Regions from separate parts of the Homo sapiens genome. Here regions 2, 3, 4 and 5 are each linked to region 1. The links are contacts of gene promoters, found by promoter capture Hi-C in human tissues and cell types (Jung and others, 2019). All regions are on one chromosome and are shown on one strand. Each heading gives the region's core, a stretch centred on a gene start or on the middle of the fragment in contact. The rest is flanking DNA. Distances are from core to core; before and after follow the strand shown. Region 1 holds the start of MAEA (macrophage erythroblast attacher, E3 ubiquitin ligase). Region 2 holds the start of LOC124900163 (chloride intracellular channel protein 6-like). Region 3 holds the start of TMEM129 (transmembrane protein 129, E3 ubiquitin ligase). Region 4 overlaps SLBP (stem-loop histone mRNA binding protein). Region 5 overlaps GAK (cyclin G associated kinase).

What was found. Contacts are between HindIII fragments. The study calls those that stand out against the background at their distance.
Region 2: a fragment that was not itself captured here is called in contact with the fragment with the promoter of MAEA in region 1 in 2 of the 25 tissues and cell types used here (dorsolateral prefrontal cortex and mesendoderm cells).
Region 3: a contact is called between the fragment with the promoter of TMEM129 here and the fragment with the promoter of MAEA in region 1, in 1 of the 25 tissues and cell types used here (dorsolateral prefrontal cortex).
Region 4: a fragment that was not itself captured here is called in contact with the fragment with the promoter of MAEA in region 1 in 3 of the 25 tissues and cell types used here (dorsolateral prefrontal cortex, hippocampus and mesendoderm cells).
Region 5: a contact is called between a fragment that was not itself captured here and the fragment with the promoter of MAEA in region 1, in 2 of the 25 tissues and cell types used here (IMR-90 fibroblasts and lymphoblastoid cells).

The regions. Positions count from the first base shown.
Region 1 is chr4:1,288,557-1,291,247 of GRCh38, forward strand. MAEA (macrophage erythroblast attacher, E3 ubiquitin ligase) reads left to right here and starts at 1,335. Exons shown (of 9, transcript NM_001017405.3): 1 at 1,335-1,426. The coding sequence starts at 1,358. LOC105374347 (a long non-coding RNA gene) reads right to left here and starts at 1,015. Exons shown (of 3, transcript XR_925046.3): 1 at 329-1,015. RefSeq lists silencers at 856-1,265, 1,366-1,645. The HindIII fragment of the contact is 22,633 bases long and covers 1-2,691 here.
Region 2 is chr4:780,891-783,581 of GRCh38, forward strand. LOC124900163 (chloride intracellular channel protein 6-like) reads right to left here and starts at 958. Exons shown (of 2, transcript XM_047416474.1): 1 at 882-958. PCGF3-AS1 (PCGF3 antisense RNA 1) reads right to left here and starts at 959. Exons shown (of 3, transcript NR_171661.1): 1 at 882-959. RefSeq lists enhancers at 74-791, 792-1,508, 1,509-2,226 and silencers at 718-797, 898-1,247. The HindIII fragment of the contact is 6,790 bases long and covers 1-2,691 here.
Region 3 is chr4:1,719,959-1,722,649 of GRCh38, forward strand. It overlaps TMEM129 (transmembrane protein 129, E3 ubiquitin ligase), which reads right to left and starts at 1,365. Exons shown (of 4, transcript NM_001127266.2): 1 at 675-1,365. The coding sequence starts at 879. TACC3 (transforming acidic coiled-coil containing protein 3) reads left to right here and starts at 1,563. Exons shown (of 16, transcript NM_006342.3): 1 at 1,563-1,685. RefSeq lists enhancers at 216-315, 1,398-2,393 and silencers at 906-955, 966-1,775. The HindIII fragment of the contact is 14,879 bases long and covers 1-2,691 here.
Region 4 is chr4:1,697,534-1,700,224 of GRCh38, forward strand. SLBP (stem-loop histone mRNA binding protein) reads right to left here. Exons shown (of 8, transcript NM_006527.4): 4 at 2,478-2,537; 5 at 2,031-2,168. Among named protein-coding and RNA genes, the nearest start is that of SLBP, 13 kb to the right of the region's middle. The HindIII fragment of the contact is 4,940 bases long and covers 1-2,691 here.
Region 5 is chr4:910,879-913,569 of GRCh38, forward strand. GAK (cyclin G associated kinase) reads right to left here. Exons shown (of 28, transcript NM_005255.4): 3 at 1,857-1,916; 4 at 795-909. Among named protein-coding and RNA genes, the nearest start is that of GAK, 20 kb to the right of the region's middle. RefSeq lists enhancers at 1,011-1,916, 1,917-2,691 and a silencer at 1,667-1,825. The HindIII fragment of the contact is 5,304 bases long and covers 1-2,691 here.

The sequences.
Region 1 (2,691 bases), core at 85-2,584:
TAAGAGGAGTGCAGTCCATCCAACTGCTGCAGTGCTCCTGTGTACTACTGGGACCATCCCGGAGAGTGGCAGACACGATGCGAACCGTGAAAGGACGCAAAGAGTACAGAGTGCATGCTTCCATCTCTATAGGAAGGTCAGGAACGCTGTTACGGGGAGCAGGGTTAGAATGATGGGGATATAGCCCGGGAAGGGGCAGAGGAGCTTTCTGTGCCACGGGAAATGTCCTAAATCTCAACCAGGACACGGTTAGATAAAAGTGCAAATATGGGTGAAAATTCATTAAAGCTGTATAGTTAAGATTTGTGCACCTCACTGTAAAACTTACTTCAAATGTCTAAAAGACTGGAGTCTGCAGCCACACACTTGAGGAATAACACTTTCCTTAGTCCCAACTCCTGTTTAAGTAAGACAGAGAAAGATTCCACAGTGCGGGTCGGATGTCTTGCGGCTGTAACATGTAGCAGCCTCCAAGCGGAGGTTCTCCCTTCATCGCTGTGTCACCTTAGATGTTTTTCCTTTGTTTAAACACCAAATATTTTAAAAGTTGTTTAGAAATGTGTTATGTGAAACACAAGGTGGTTTAATTGGGACGTCATTTCCTAATTAATAAAATCTAATTTCAGTTTTATTTTGGAAAGGAGGGAGACGGGTGGTGTTTGAAAGGCTGAGAATGTGAAGTGGCTGAAATGAAGGCAGCGCACGACCTGGATGCCAGCGCTGCCCGCCCTGCAAGGAGAGGGCGGAGAGGCCACACGCTTCTCATGCTTCGGGAGTTTCTGTCCATAAATCAGTTTTAGGTACTGGGCCTTTCCTCTTCCGTTGGGAAGTCGGAGGTTCCACATCAGGATTCCAGCAGCTGTAAATCGGTCAAAATAAGGCCAAAGAAAAATAGCTGGCTACAGGCGCATGCGGCCAGGCGTTTTGTTGGCGTTGCCCTTGGTACCGCAGGCACGAGGGACCCACAGGGGACCACCCCGCGGGAGCCCCAAGTAACTGGACGGACGCCAAGTCCCCCAGCCCGCTCGGCCCCAGCTCCACCCGCCCGGGCCGCAGCCCGCACCCCATCGGCCCGCCCCGGGCCAGGAGCATCCCCAGCTCCGGCGTCTGCGGCCTGAACCCGGTAGCGAATTCAAGGTGGAAACCGCCAGCCGGGGCTATCGTTGATTGGCTGAACGAGAGGAAACCCGGCAGTGATTGGTTCGCGCCTTCTTCCGCCTCCGGCCGACTGGGCGGATACGATTGGTGCAGGGGCATCGGCCCGCCCCCATCCTGCTCCGGCCGGCGCGTGGCGTCATTTCCCGGCGTGCAGCGCGCTCGCGCGTCCCCCGCCCGCTAATGTTTTGGCCGCTTCAAGATGGCGGTGCAGGAGTCGGCGGCTCAGTTGTCCATGACCCTGAAGGTCCAGGAGTACCCGACCCTCAAGGTGGGCGCCTGCGCCGCGCAGGCTGAGGGCAGCGAAGGCGTCTCCAGCCAGTGCCCTCGGGCCGCGAGGGGCCGCCCCGGGAGGGCCAGCGGCGAGGGCGGCGGGAGCTGGGCGCGGCCTCGCGGGGCCGTGCGGGCTTCTCAGGGGCGCCCGGTCCGCGCCGGGCAGGTGTGGCGGGGGCGGCGGCTTTGGCCCTGCCAGGCGCCCGACTGTGGCCCCTCTGCTTGAAGAGCTGCGTGAGCCGAGCCAGCGACGACTCTGGCAGCGCTAAGGGTGGCGAATTTGGGGCTGGGGTGGAAGCCGGAGTTTGCGGGGCGTGGGGTCTCTGGCGCCCAGGCAGACGGAGTGCGCGGCGTGCCCAGCCAGTGCCCGGCCGCCCTCCCGGGAGCCCAGGGCTGGGAGGTGCCGGCTGCGCCGGTCGCTAGTTAGGAACTGTAGGGAGAAACCTCACGGCCTGATGGCACCCAGCGACCTTTTTGATGGGCGTCACCAAACCTGAAATACAGCTCTTGCCGTCCGGCTGCCGGTTGCGTGACCTTGGGTGGTCACCTAGCCACGTCGCACTTCTTAGAATGAAATTTGTGCTCCTAGTAGAAGGAGCCGATACTTGTTCTTTACCTAGTTAGTAGAGGATTTGATATGAAGCACCTGGGAAGGAATTCCTTAAAAGATCAAGGTCATAGCTTTCCTAGAGCTGCGGCTGAGCTTCGTGGTTCTGTGTTGCCTTCCTGGAGAGCTGCGTAGTTTCTCTCTCCTCCCAGAGCGCCCTGGTGTTCACGTCCGTCTGAGGACGGACGGTGTGGCGACAGGTGTGGAGGATGCAGTATGGCCAGGTTGCTGTGCGTTCCCCCAGCCCCAGGGCAGTTCAGCGAAGGGCTGAAGAGCACAGGCTGTGAGCCATCCTGCTGGGGTGTGAATCAGGCTTCTCTGTATTCGTCCTTACTGGGAGACATCAGGGCCCGGTTGGTGACTGTTTATTCTTGTCAGGTTTAAGCAGTGGTAGCGCCTGTGTCACCTCAGGGTGAAATGAGTGACCACGTATTGTTTCAAACAGTGCCTAGCATTCATTAAAAGGTCCCTGCTACAGTTAGCGCTGCTGAAGTCAGGCTGTACCCTGCTGTAGCTGGTCTTCATAGGAAAGCAGAAGCAAGCTTCTCCTCCTCTTTATTAACTAGCGGTTTATTTCATATTTTTAAAAAGAAACGGGGTTTCACTGTTGCCTAGGGTGGTTTTGGATTCCAGGACTTAAGCGATCCTCCTGCCTT
Region 2 (2,691 bases), core at 139-2,638, 510 kb before region 1:
GACCCTGGCGAGTGAGTTTTCTCTTCACAGCCCCCTGTCCCTGCTGCCCACTGAGCCAGCCAGCCCGAGGGTGGAAAAGTCATTCTGGCTCTAAGCTTCCAGCACAGTCCGGGAGACCACACGGGTCCTGGGGAGGGTGGCTAAGCCCGAGGGGCTTTATAGGATGAGTCACAAGAAAGTCCATCTGGTGGGCCCTCCCTGACTCCCCTCCACTGTCCCCGGCTCACGGCGAGGAAGGCAAGGCTGGTGGGGGGGACAGGAAAGGGCTGGGGTCTCTCCCCACCTCCACTGCCAACGCCCTGCAGACCCCCAGGCCACAGCCTTTCCCGGGGCTCCCCCAAGGTATGGGAGGTGGGGCGGGTCCAGTTTACGCTGGTTTCAAAGAAGTGAGAGCGCCCCGCCGCCATGTCATGGAGGGTCCCGCGCCCCCACCCCTTGCCTGGGGTCGTGTGTGGGCAGCCGCAGAAAGCGCCCCGACGGCAGGAGCGGGGTTCCAGGCTGAGACCGGGCCTCGGCGGCGCCCCTTCCTGCCGGGAGTGGCGCATCCCAGGACCCACAGACAAACAGGGCCAGCCAGGGTCACCCGGAGCGCGAAGGCCGGCTATGGGCTTAGGGTGGGGTCTGGTCCCTACGGCCGGCCTAGGGGGAACGCGGGACAGGAGAAGGTCTGGGAAAAACCTGCTTCCGAGGCCTCGGCTTCGGGGCGTCCTCCTGAGCTGGCGCCAGCCCGCAGCGGGGCCGGGCAGGGACGCCGGCCTAACGGTGGGGACCGGCAGGGCCTGGGGGCAGGACGAGACAAGCACACAACCGACGGGGCGGGGCCAGGCGAGGGCACGGGGCCGAAGAAGCTTCTGCCAGGCCCGAGACCCGCACTTAGTTACCTGAGAAGGCGGGAAGGTGCGGCCGCGGGGTGAGCGGCGGACTGACCCAGCTCCAGCGCCTCTGCAGAGGCTTGCAATGGCGTCTCTCGGGCTCTGATTGGTCAGGCCTCCACACGTGAGCCTCTAGGAGCCAATCATGTCGGCCCACCTAGCATGCGCTGATTGGCTCAGGCTGGCCAGGGGCGGGCGCGGTCCTTCCACGGCCCGGTCCCCGCTCCCTTCCCCAGGCCCGGAGGCCCCGCCCGAGCGGCTCCGCTGGGGGCGGTTCTGCTGGAGAGGACGGATCTGCTGGGGAGATGGATATCCTGGAGGGGCGGATCTACTCGGGGGGCGGGTCTGCTGGGAAGGCCGGATCTGCTGTGAGGGGCGGGTCTTCTGGAGGGGCCGATCTGCTGAGGGGGCCGGATCTGCTGCCTGACAGGGCTTCCTGGCCTGGGGAGGAGGCCGTGTCTGGAGCTTGAAAGCCGGCCCCGCTGTGTTCAAGATACAGTCAAACGTTCAGAAGGAGGAGACTCCGGGGGCAGGGTGGTGCCCAGCCAGTGCATGGGGCCAGGGCCACGCTGGTGGCACCCAGGCAGCGCTGCCTCCTGGCTCTCGAATGGCTGTTCTCTGCCCAGAATGCTCTCCCACGGGACACGCGCCTCCCTCCGGGTCTGTGCACGTCACTCTGACAGAGAGGCCCCCTGACCACTCATGAAATAGTAACCCTAACCATTGCTCTCTGCTCCCTGTCCTGCTTGATTTTCCTCCAGGGCAAACACCGCCACTTCCATGTTTATCATCTGTCCTCCATCACTAGGAAAACCAGTTCCAGGAGGGAGGGACTAGTATTCCCAGCCCCTAGAACAGAGCAGCGCATATCACAGGGGCTCAGTAAACATCTGGGGAGGAGTGCCATTCCCAGGAGGCCTCAGACCCCGTCACCTGAGATGAGAGCTGGATCCCGGAGAAGCTCAGGTCTGACCCAGCATTCATTGCTGTAGGAAGGGCTCGTCTAGACTCCAAGGGAGCCGGGTGCGGTGGCTCACGCCTGAAATCCCAGCACTTCGGAAGGCCGAGGCGGGCGGATCACCAGGTCAGGAGATCCAGACCATCCTGGCTAACACGGTGAAACCCCGTCTCTACTAAAAATACAAAAAATTAGCCGGGCGTGGTGGCGGGTGCCTGTAGTCCCAGCTACTCGGGAGGCTGAGGCAGGAGAATGGTGTGAACTTGGGAGCGGAGCTTGCAGTGAGCCGAGATCGCACCACTGCACTCCATCCTGGGGGACAGAGAGAGACTCTGTCTCAAAAAAAAAAGACTCCAAGGGAAAGCTGCCTGGGTCGTGACCTGGCACGTCCAAGTCGCTGCTTAGGCTTGCAAGGGGGTCCAGACCAGGCTGTGGATGGGAAATGGGAGGCTGGGGGAGGATGGAGGCTGAGCAGTGGCTGGATGTTGGGGTGCCCTGTTGAGGGGCAGCTGGCAGCAGCCACGGACACAGGGGTGGGTGCAAAGACACTGAGTTTCTGTTCCAGGAGGAAGGGGGGCCAGCTGGCAGAGGAGAGATCACCCTGGGCAATTTGGTGGTGCCTGGGGTGCACACTTCCCCAGAGGCAGCAGGAGGAGGAGCTGGATACACCCTTCCCTGGGCTTGGAGGAGAGCACGTTCCCTCCCAGCTCCCACCTGGCATCCAGGAGGGCCCGGCCTGGGGTCAGGGCACATGGGGCCCTCCTGCCCTGGGACTGGGCAGCTCCCTGGGGCATTCCCAGCCAGCAGCATCAGGAAGGTTACAGGAGACCCAGACATGCTGCTCCCTAGAGAGGGCTCCTG
Region 3 (2,691 bases), core at 115-2,614, 430 kb after region 1:
AGGGCTGCGTCTGCCCCCGTGTCCTCCAGAGGTACCCCCTTGAAATCCCCCTCCAGCCACTGCACACCCCACCTCCCACCTGTCCGTCATCCAATCAGCTGAGAGAGGGACCTTCCAGAGCCCCAGCTAGCACCTGGGGCCCAGCCCAGCACCCCCCTGGACAACTCTGAGCGTCCCACCTGCACTGCACAGAGGCCCTCCCCAGCCTCTGCCCCTGTGGCGCCCCCAAACTGGAACTGCCTCCAAATCCGCCTGTTCTCTCCACACCCACCTTCCAAGGCCTAGTGCAGTGCCACCCTCCACACAGCCCCTCCGACCCCTTCCGTTGGACTCAATCAACAGTTGCCTTCTCCTGGCCACTGCCCCCAACCACGACAAGCAAGGGCTGCTTGGCCTTGCAACCCCCAGGCACGTGACGGTTCAGGACTTGGTGGGCCGGAGCATCCCTTGCCCAAGGTTCTGAACTTGGGTTCCCGTCACCTGCAAGTCAGTGCCGGCGGCGCCCCTAAGCGCGCTCAGCCCACGCCGCGGTCCCTCTGGATGAGGACCGGCGCCTCTCCCCAGCTGCGCCCAGGCGCTTTCGGGGCCTCGGGGAGCTGGCGGAGGCCTCCTCCTGACCTCCCAGCAAGCCCTGCGCAGGAGAGGATGCGGCCGGCCGGCCCGAGCAGCCTCACCGAGCGGCAGCAGCGAGTGGCACAACAGCGTGGCGGCCGTGCGGCGCAAGTGGAAGGGCACGAAGGCGGCGTCCTCGCTGCCCAGCCAGCCCGACAGCAGGTTCTGCACCGTGAGCCCCGCCGCGTGGAACTCGTTGGGCGTGAACACGAAGCACACGGCGAACACCAGATAGGCGAGAGTGAAGGTCACCTCGGGGCTGTCCATCGCGCAGCCGCCGGGAAGCTGTCGAGCTAGGCCCCCGCCCCGGCGCGCGGACGAGGCCGCAGCGCCCAGTCCCGGACCTGTCGGTTGCGGCGGCCGCCGCCCGGCCGCCCGCGGGGCACTCTAGGACATGGAGTCCCGCCGCCCGGCCGCCCGCGGGGCACTCTAGGACATGGAGTCCCGCCGCCCGGCCGCCCGCGGGGCACTCTAGGACATGGAGTCCCGCCGCCCGGCCGCCCGCGGGGCACTCTAGGGCATGGAGTCCCGCCGCTCGGCCGCTCGCGGGGCGCTCTGGGAGATGCAGTCCCCGTGCGGGTGCGGCCTCTCTTCTCGGCCGGCCCTGGAGGCGGCACCGCACCTGTGCATTGAGCACAGGTGGGGAAACTTAGGCCTGAGCGAGGCCCTGGCCATGAAGCCCCGCCCAGTAGCGTCAGTTGCGGAACTCGAAATTCATGGGGCGACTGCGAGCCCGGGGTCTCAGCTTCAGACACCCTGGCGTGCCCTCCACTCCGGAAACGGAACCGTCGGCGCCCGAGCGGGGGGTGGGGGGGGAGGGAGGGCGGAGCCGGCGAGGCACAGCTTCCCATTGGACGCCCGCCCTCCTGCGGTCCTGCCCCCGGCCGCGCGCTGATTGGCCGCGCGAAGGCAACCGTCGGCGTTTGAAACTCCGGCGCGCCGGCGGCCATCAAGGGCTAGAAGCGCGACGGCGGTAGCAGCTAGGCTTGGCCCCCGGCGTGGAGCAGACGCGGACCCCTCCTTCCTGGCGGCGGCGGCGCGGGCTCAGAGCCCGGCAACGGGCGGGCGGGCAGGTAGGAGAGCGGCTACACGGCGCGGGGAGGCTGGGGTCCTGGGGGCGCGAGGCCGTCCCGCCCCGCCCCGCCCTCGGCCCTCGCCCTCCCGCCCCGGCCGCCGCTTTCCCCGGGAAGCGTCCCCCACGGCTCCTCCTGGGGCCGCCGCCAGAACCTGTACCGCGCCCTGTCATGGGACCCGGCCCTAGACCGACCGCCGGGCTGGGCCCCCTGGATGGTGGCCAGGGGCGGCTAGAGCTGGGCCAAGACCGACGGCGGAGCGGGCGCCCCGAGGTGCTTTGCTCTCCTCGACCCTCTCCTGTCTCTCGGTCGCCCACCTTGGCTCTTTGTTGGCTCCCAGCACGCGGACCCTCCTGTTGTTCTTTGGTCCCTTCCGGCCTCCGTCCTGGGGCCAACTCCATCTAGGCCGCCTGCGGCGGACACCTGGGCCCCTACCGCTTCCCCGCACCTGCTGCGCCGCTCCACCTTCCCCCCGCACCGCATCCCTCTTGTGCACCAGAGTAGCACCAAAGCACCAGCCTGGGGCCGGTCCCTTCTCTGCCCAGAGCCCCTCCCGGGCCTCCATAGTCAGTAAAGGCCCCTCCTGACTAAGGCTGGGTCTGCTGCTCTCCCGAGCTCCTCCAGGCCGCCAGAAGGCTTCCTCCGAGTCACTTTCTCCCTGAGTTCGAGGCTTGCGGGTCCCCCAGCGATCCAGCACCCCTTCCCCTGCCCTGTACCCAGTTATTCAGGGCGAAAACCTAAGCGTCGTCCGTAAGTCCCATATGTGCCAGTGGCCAGGCCCGGGTCTGGTCTGGCATCTACTCCTTGGGCTCCAGAAGCCTGTGGTTTCCCTGCTTCCCTTCTGCTCTTAACCTCCCCACCCACACACAGCACCACAGTGGGCTTCTCAAGCTGCAGCACCGACCTGCCGGGGCTGCCCCCTCTCTCTTCTCCAGGACCCTCCCCAACTTTGCTCTTCTTCAAATCAAAGCCTCCCCAGGTCCCCCTCCACCACCAGGTGCCTGTG
Region 4 (2,691 bases), core at 74-2,573, 410 kb after region 1:
TTAAAAAATTAAAAAGCACTATCCGGGCCGGGTGCGGTGGCTCACACCTGTAATCCCAGCACTTTGGGAGGCCGAGGCAGGCAGATCACCCAAAGTCAGGAGTTCGAGACCAGCCTGACCAACATGGAGAAACACCATCTGTACTAAAAATACAAAAAAATTAGCCCAGGCATGGTGGCGCATGCCTGTAATTCCAGCTACTTGGGAGGCTGAGGCAGGAGAATCGCTTGAACCTGGGAGGCGGAGGTTGCGGTGAGCCAAGATTGCACCATTGTACTCCAGCCTGGACTAGAGTGAAACTCGGTCTCAAAAAAATCACTATCCGCTGGGCACAGTGGCTCACGCTTGTAATCACAGTACTTTGGGAGGACTACTTGAGGCCAGGAGTTCAAGACCAGCCTGGGCGACATAGGGAGACTCCCATCTCTATAAAAATTTAAAAGTTTAGCCAGGTGTGGCGGCATGCACCGCTGGTCCCAGCTACTCAGGAGGTTGAGGTAGGAGGATTGCTTGAGGCCAGGAGTTAAGACTACAGTGAGCCATGATGGTTGGGCGTGGTGGCTCACCCCTGTAATCCCAGCACTGTGGGAGGCAGAGACAGACGGATCACGAGATCAGCAGTGCGAGACCAGCCTGGCCAATATGGTAAAACCCCATCTCTACTGAAAATACGAAAATTAACCAAGTGTGGTGGCAGGCGCCTGTGGAGGCTGAGGCAGGAGAATCGCTTGAACCCGAGAGGTGGAGTTGAAATTGCGCCACTGCACTCCAGCCTGGGCAACAGAGCAAGATTCCGTCTCAAAAAAATGAATACACAGTGAGACATGATATAACACTGCACTTCAGCCTAGGTAACAGCAAGACTCGGTCAGGAGGGAAAAAAAAAAGCACCATCACATTGAATCTTACTATTCCTTTGCCAGCTATGTTCCAAAAAAGTAAAAAAAAAAAAAAAAAATTGTTTTTTTTGAGATGGAGTCTTGCTCTGTGACCCAGGCTGGAGTGCAGTGGTGCAATCTCGGCTCACTGCAACCTCCTCCTCCCAGGTTCAAGTGATTCTCCTGCCTCAGCCTCCCGAGTAGCTGGGACTACAAATGTGTGCCACCACGCCCAGCAAATTTCTTGTATTTTTAGTAGAGACGGGGTTCCACCGTGTTAGCCAGGGTGGTCTCGATCTCCTGACCTCATGATCCGCACTCCTCGGCCTCCCAAAGTGCTGGGATTACAGGCATGAGCCACTGCACTCAGCCAAAAGTAAAATTTTTTTTTTTAAGAGACAAAGTCTCATACTCTGCAGCCCAGGCTGGAGTGCAGTGGTGTGATTAATGGTTCACTGTAACGTTGAATTCCTGGGCTGAAGCAGTTCTCCCACCTGTCTCCCAAGTAGCTGGGACTACAGGTGCAAACCACCACACCTGGCTAATTTTTAAATTTTTTGTAGAGATGAGGTCTCCTTATATTGCCCAGGCTAGTCTCCTGGCCTCAAGCAGTCCTCTCGGCCTCCCAAAGTGCTGGAATTACAAGCATGAGCCATTGCACCTGGCCCAGAAATGTAAATTTCAACCCCAATCCTGCCAAAAAGTTCAGGAAAACACTAAAGCTTTCTTTATATCCTTCTGTGTCTGTGTGTTTGAGGGACCAGGATAGGCAAGAACATGCTGCTTAAAGACAATAGGGCAATGCCAATTTTTTTTTCTCCAATTAGAATTTTACAATATTTAACTTGAACTTCATTTTTCCCCATCATGTATTTTAATAAGCTTACATCTATGATTGCTGACTCCTAAGAAATAAAATGTTATCTAACATTCAAAATTATATGAAAATGATTTTTAAAATCTTCATGTCTTTAGTTTTCCAGTTGCCAATCCATTCTTTATTTACGTCATAAGCCCCAGTAAGTCCCTATTAAATAGCTCTTAGCAGGTGTGAACTATCCCCAGCATCATTTGTACTACCCAATCTAAGCAACTCTTTAGAAACGCAATGCCACACAGCTTGTTCAAGACATGCCACTGAAACAAGACTACCTTGGGACTTCTTTAATATAACGATCGTAGGCAATTGTGTTCTTCCCATAGTTGATCTGCTTCTGTCTCCTCATTAGGACACTTTCATCTGTCTCAAAGTCAGCCGGCACAGTAGACATAGACTCCTTTGAATCAGAACTGAAAAAACAACAGATTAACAGAATAAGCCCTGCAATTAAGATCACCATGTATGTAAGGTAAGCCAAGAAAATGTCAAAACACAATAATGGAAGATTCACTCCAGATTCCCAACCATATGAATCCTAAATAGTCCGGAGACTGCATGTATGGGAATTTAGTACACAACAGATACAGTATTTCAAATTAGTGAAAAAGGTATTAATAAATGCTACTGCGACAGTCAGCATTTCTGACAGTCACAATTTTTTTTTTTTAACAAATTACAGGTCTATCAAATTAGAAAAGAAACATTTACACAGCCTTTACCTTCCTGATGATGATTTTCTCTCTCTTCCAAAGTCATTGATGAGGAGTTTCCTTTTATATCTGAGGGCAAAATAAATATTGCTGTTTTTAAAAAAGATATAAAAATAAAGCAGCCAGGTCTGAGGAAGCTCCACCCTGATGCCCGCAGGCACACCATCCTATGCAATCCAGAAGCTCCGTGGGCCAAAAGAAATCTTTGTCAGGTTCAGTTTAA
Region 5 (2,691 bases), core at 85-2,584, 380 kb before region 1:
AGGCAGGGCTGGGGGTGGAGCCGCCCTCTGAGGCACAGGTCTTGTTTCCCCTTTGCAGACACAGCCTGAGGCTCAGCAGGGTCAGGCCAGGTCTCCGGCCAGTCAGCGTGGGCTCCGGTGACACCAACACGACATCCCCCGCAGTCACTCACACAGACCACTCTGCCCCTAGAACTCTCCGAAAGCACCACCCCAACCCACCGGCCTCTCTTCCTGTCCTGACAAACGGACCATGGAGTCGTTGTGCCATCTTCCTGGGCTCAACCCTGATGAGGCTGGGCACCCACAGAGGGACCTGGAGTTGTCCACCTCTGCGGCCTCTCTTCTCCTTGCCAGGACCCCAGAGCCCCTGACAAGGACGGACAGCAGCACTCCTCCACCCTGCTCAACACCGCTCATGGAAGGCCACCACGCTCCACCCCACAGGGACCCCAGAGCCCTGAGAAGGACAGACGCTCCTCCACCCCTGCTAAACACCACTCACGGAAGGCCACCACGCTCTACCCCGTGCTGCCACTGGAGACAGGCAGGATGGGAGCCCGGCTCTCTGGCTGCCCGCAGCTCCACGAGGAGACGATGCAGGTGGCCCACCGGGACAGTGGGAAGCTCACTGGGCGTCAGCGTGGGCCTCTCACAGAACTACTGTCAGAGAGCTGCCCGCGCTTCCCGCTAAGACCAACACAGCTTGAGAGAAGATGCCGGGCATGTTTCACAGCCATGCAGCTGGGTTAGGAGGCATCAAGCCGGCCTCTGCTGGGTTAGATGGCACCAAGCCGGCCTTCACAGGACGTTACCTTTACAGAGCTCTGTGAGCAAGAGGAACTCAGCCTGCCCCGTGTCTGACTCCTCTTTTCCTATAGACGCTGCAGAACAAAACTGGACAATGTTCGGGTGGCCGGAAAGCTTTTTCTGCAGTTGTCTTGTTAAAGGAGAACGTACATAACCATGTCCACAGTTCTGTGCACTTCAAAATAAATGTAGACAATATTAACACACTGAAGTCAGAATACTTGAATCGAACCCTTACAATTTTAGACGTCAGAGCGGAAGATGAGGGAGAGAGCAGTGGACGACCGAGAGAAAGGCAGACAGAGGCAGGAGGAGCTGCAGGAGAGGGCGGGGACAAAGGCAGGCACACCGGCCACACACACCTGACCACAGCGACACCAAAGTCCATCCCGCGCGTGGCAGGAGGAGGCAGGGCCCTCAGGGGGCTGTGCGCAGGGAGGCTGCGGCGTGGCTGTGTCCACCCGAACCCACACTCAGGCAGCCGGCGGGCTCTCCGAGTGAACAGAGCTAGGAGAGGAAAGAGAGGCAGAGTCTGAGGGCAGCCAGGGCCGAAGACTCCAGGCTCAGGAGGGACATGTGGCAGTGGACAGGGAGTGCAGCCCCCAGATCCTCTGTCAGCGCCGGGAGATGCCCCGCCCAGTCATGCTGGGACAGCCTGAGAAGGGACGAGAGGGGCGGCTGAGAAGCCACATCGGGGCCTGTGGGAGCCAGGCCATCTGCACGGCTCTCAGCCAGGTCTCCGGAGGAGCTGAGGGGGCCGGGCCGGGCAAGGGCCCCCTGTGGTAACCAGCCCATCCACTGGGCAGGGAGACCTCTTGGGTAGGAACAACTTCATTCCCAACACTTCTGAATCTTCTACTATTACCCTGGCAGTAAAAAAAAAACAGAAAAAACTGCTTCTTCCTAGAAGTCGCCTACAACTAGGTTTGGTAAAAGCAAAAAGCCGATTTTAACACATGAAAGACAACGTCACGGAGCAGCCTCTTGGCCACTGGCGGTCACAGCTTGACGCAGGCCTGTGCCTGCCAAAGCCACCGTGCTGGCTCCTGGTTCCAGGAAAAGGATACCATGAAGCAAACTTCTTGAATGATGGCTCTGTTCTTTTCCTCTTCATTGGATAATAGCCTCTGTATCAGGAAACAGCACACACAAAAGATGAAAGCAAGTTTACCTTCCTACTCCACCCGATGCATCATCTCAGACATAAGCACGCAACAGAGCAATGCAATGTGTCTAATACAGCTCCCCCCGTTTCGTGTGTCTCCACCTCTGACCCCTGTAAAAACGTGCTGGGGGTTCAAGACCCTCAAAAGATCTTTGTGATGCAAGGACACAAGAAAAGTCAAAAGCAGGAGCCTTTCCCCAAATGGGCCAGAGTAAAATGAGACAGACAAGAAGGAAGAGCGGCAATGCTCTGCAGACACGGGGGCAGCAGGCGTGCAGACCACGACAACAGGCCCACTCATGCCCACTCTCAAAGGCGGGGCCACCCTGGTGCCCAGCGTGGTGACAGCAAATGGGGCCTTCTTACGTCTCAGGACAAAACTGCACAGTACAGACCCTCCCACAGTGACCCCTATTTACAGAAATGCTAGCAACAAATATTTTTTACAAGCAGCTTTTAAACTCCTTGTATTCATAGAGCCCTTATTTTGGCACATGGAGGCCAAGAGGGCATGACCCCACCATGAGGTCACCCCCAGCACAGCCCCTGCCACAGGGCAGGCAGGGCCACAGGAGTGTGAAGCCCAAAGCTGGAGACCAAGGCTCCTGCAGTGCCCAAGGCTGCTGAGATTCAGCAGAAGCAAAAGGGACAAGTATGTCCAGGCTGTAAAAGGAAACAAAGTACGTAACAGGGACGCATCCCTGAAAAGACTGTCACCAGACAGTCCCTTTACATAC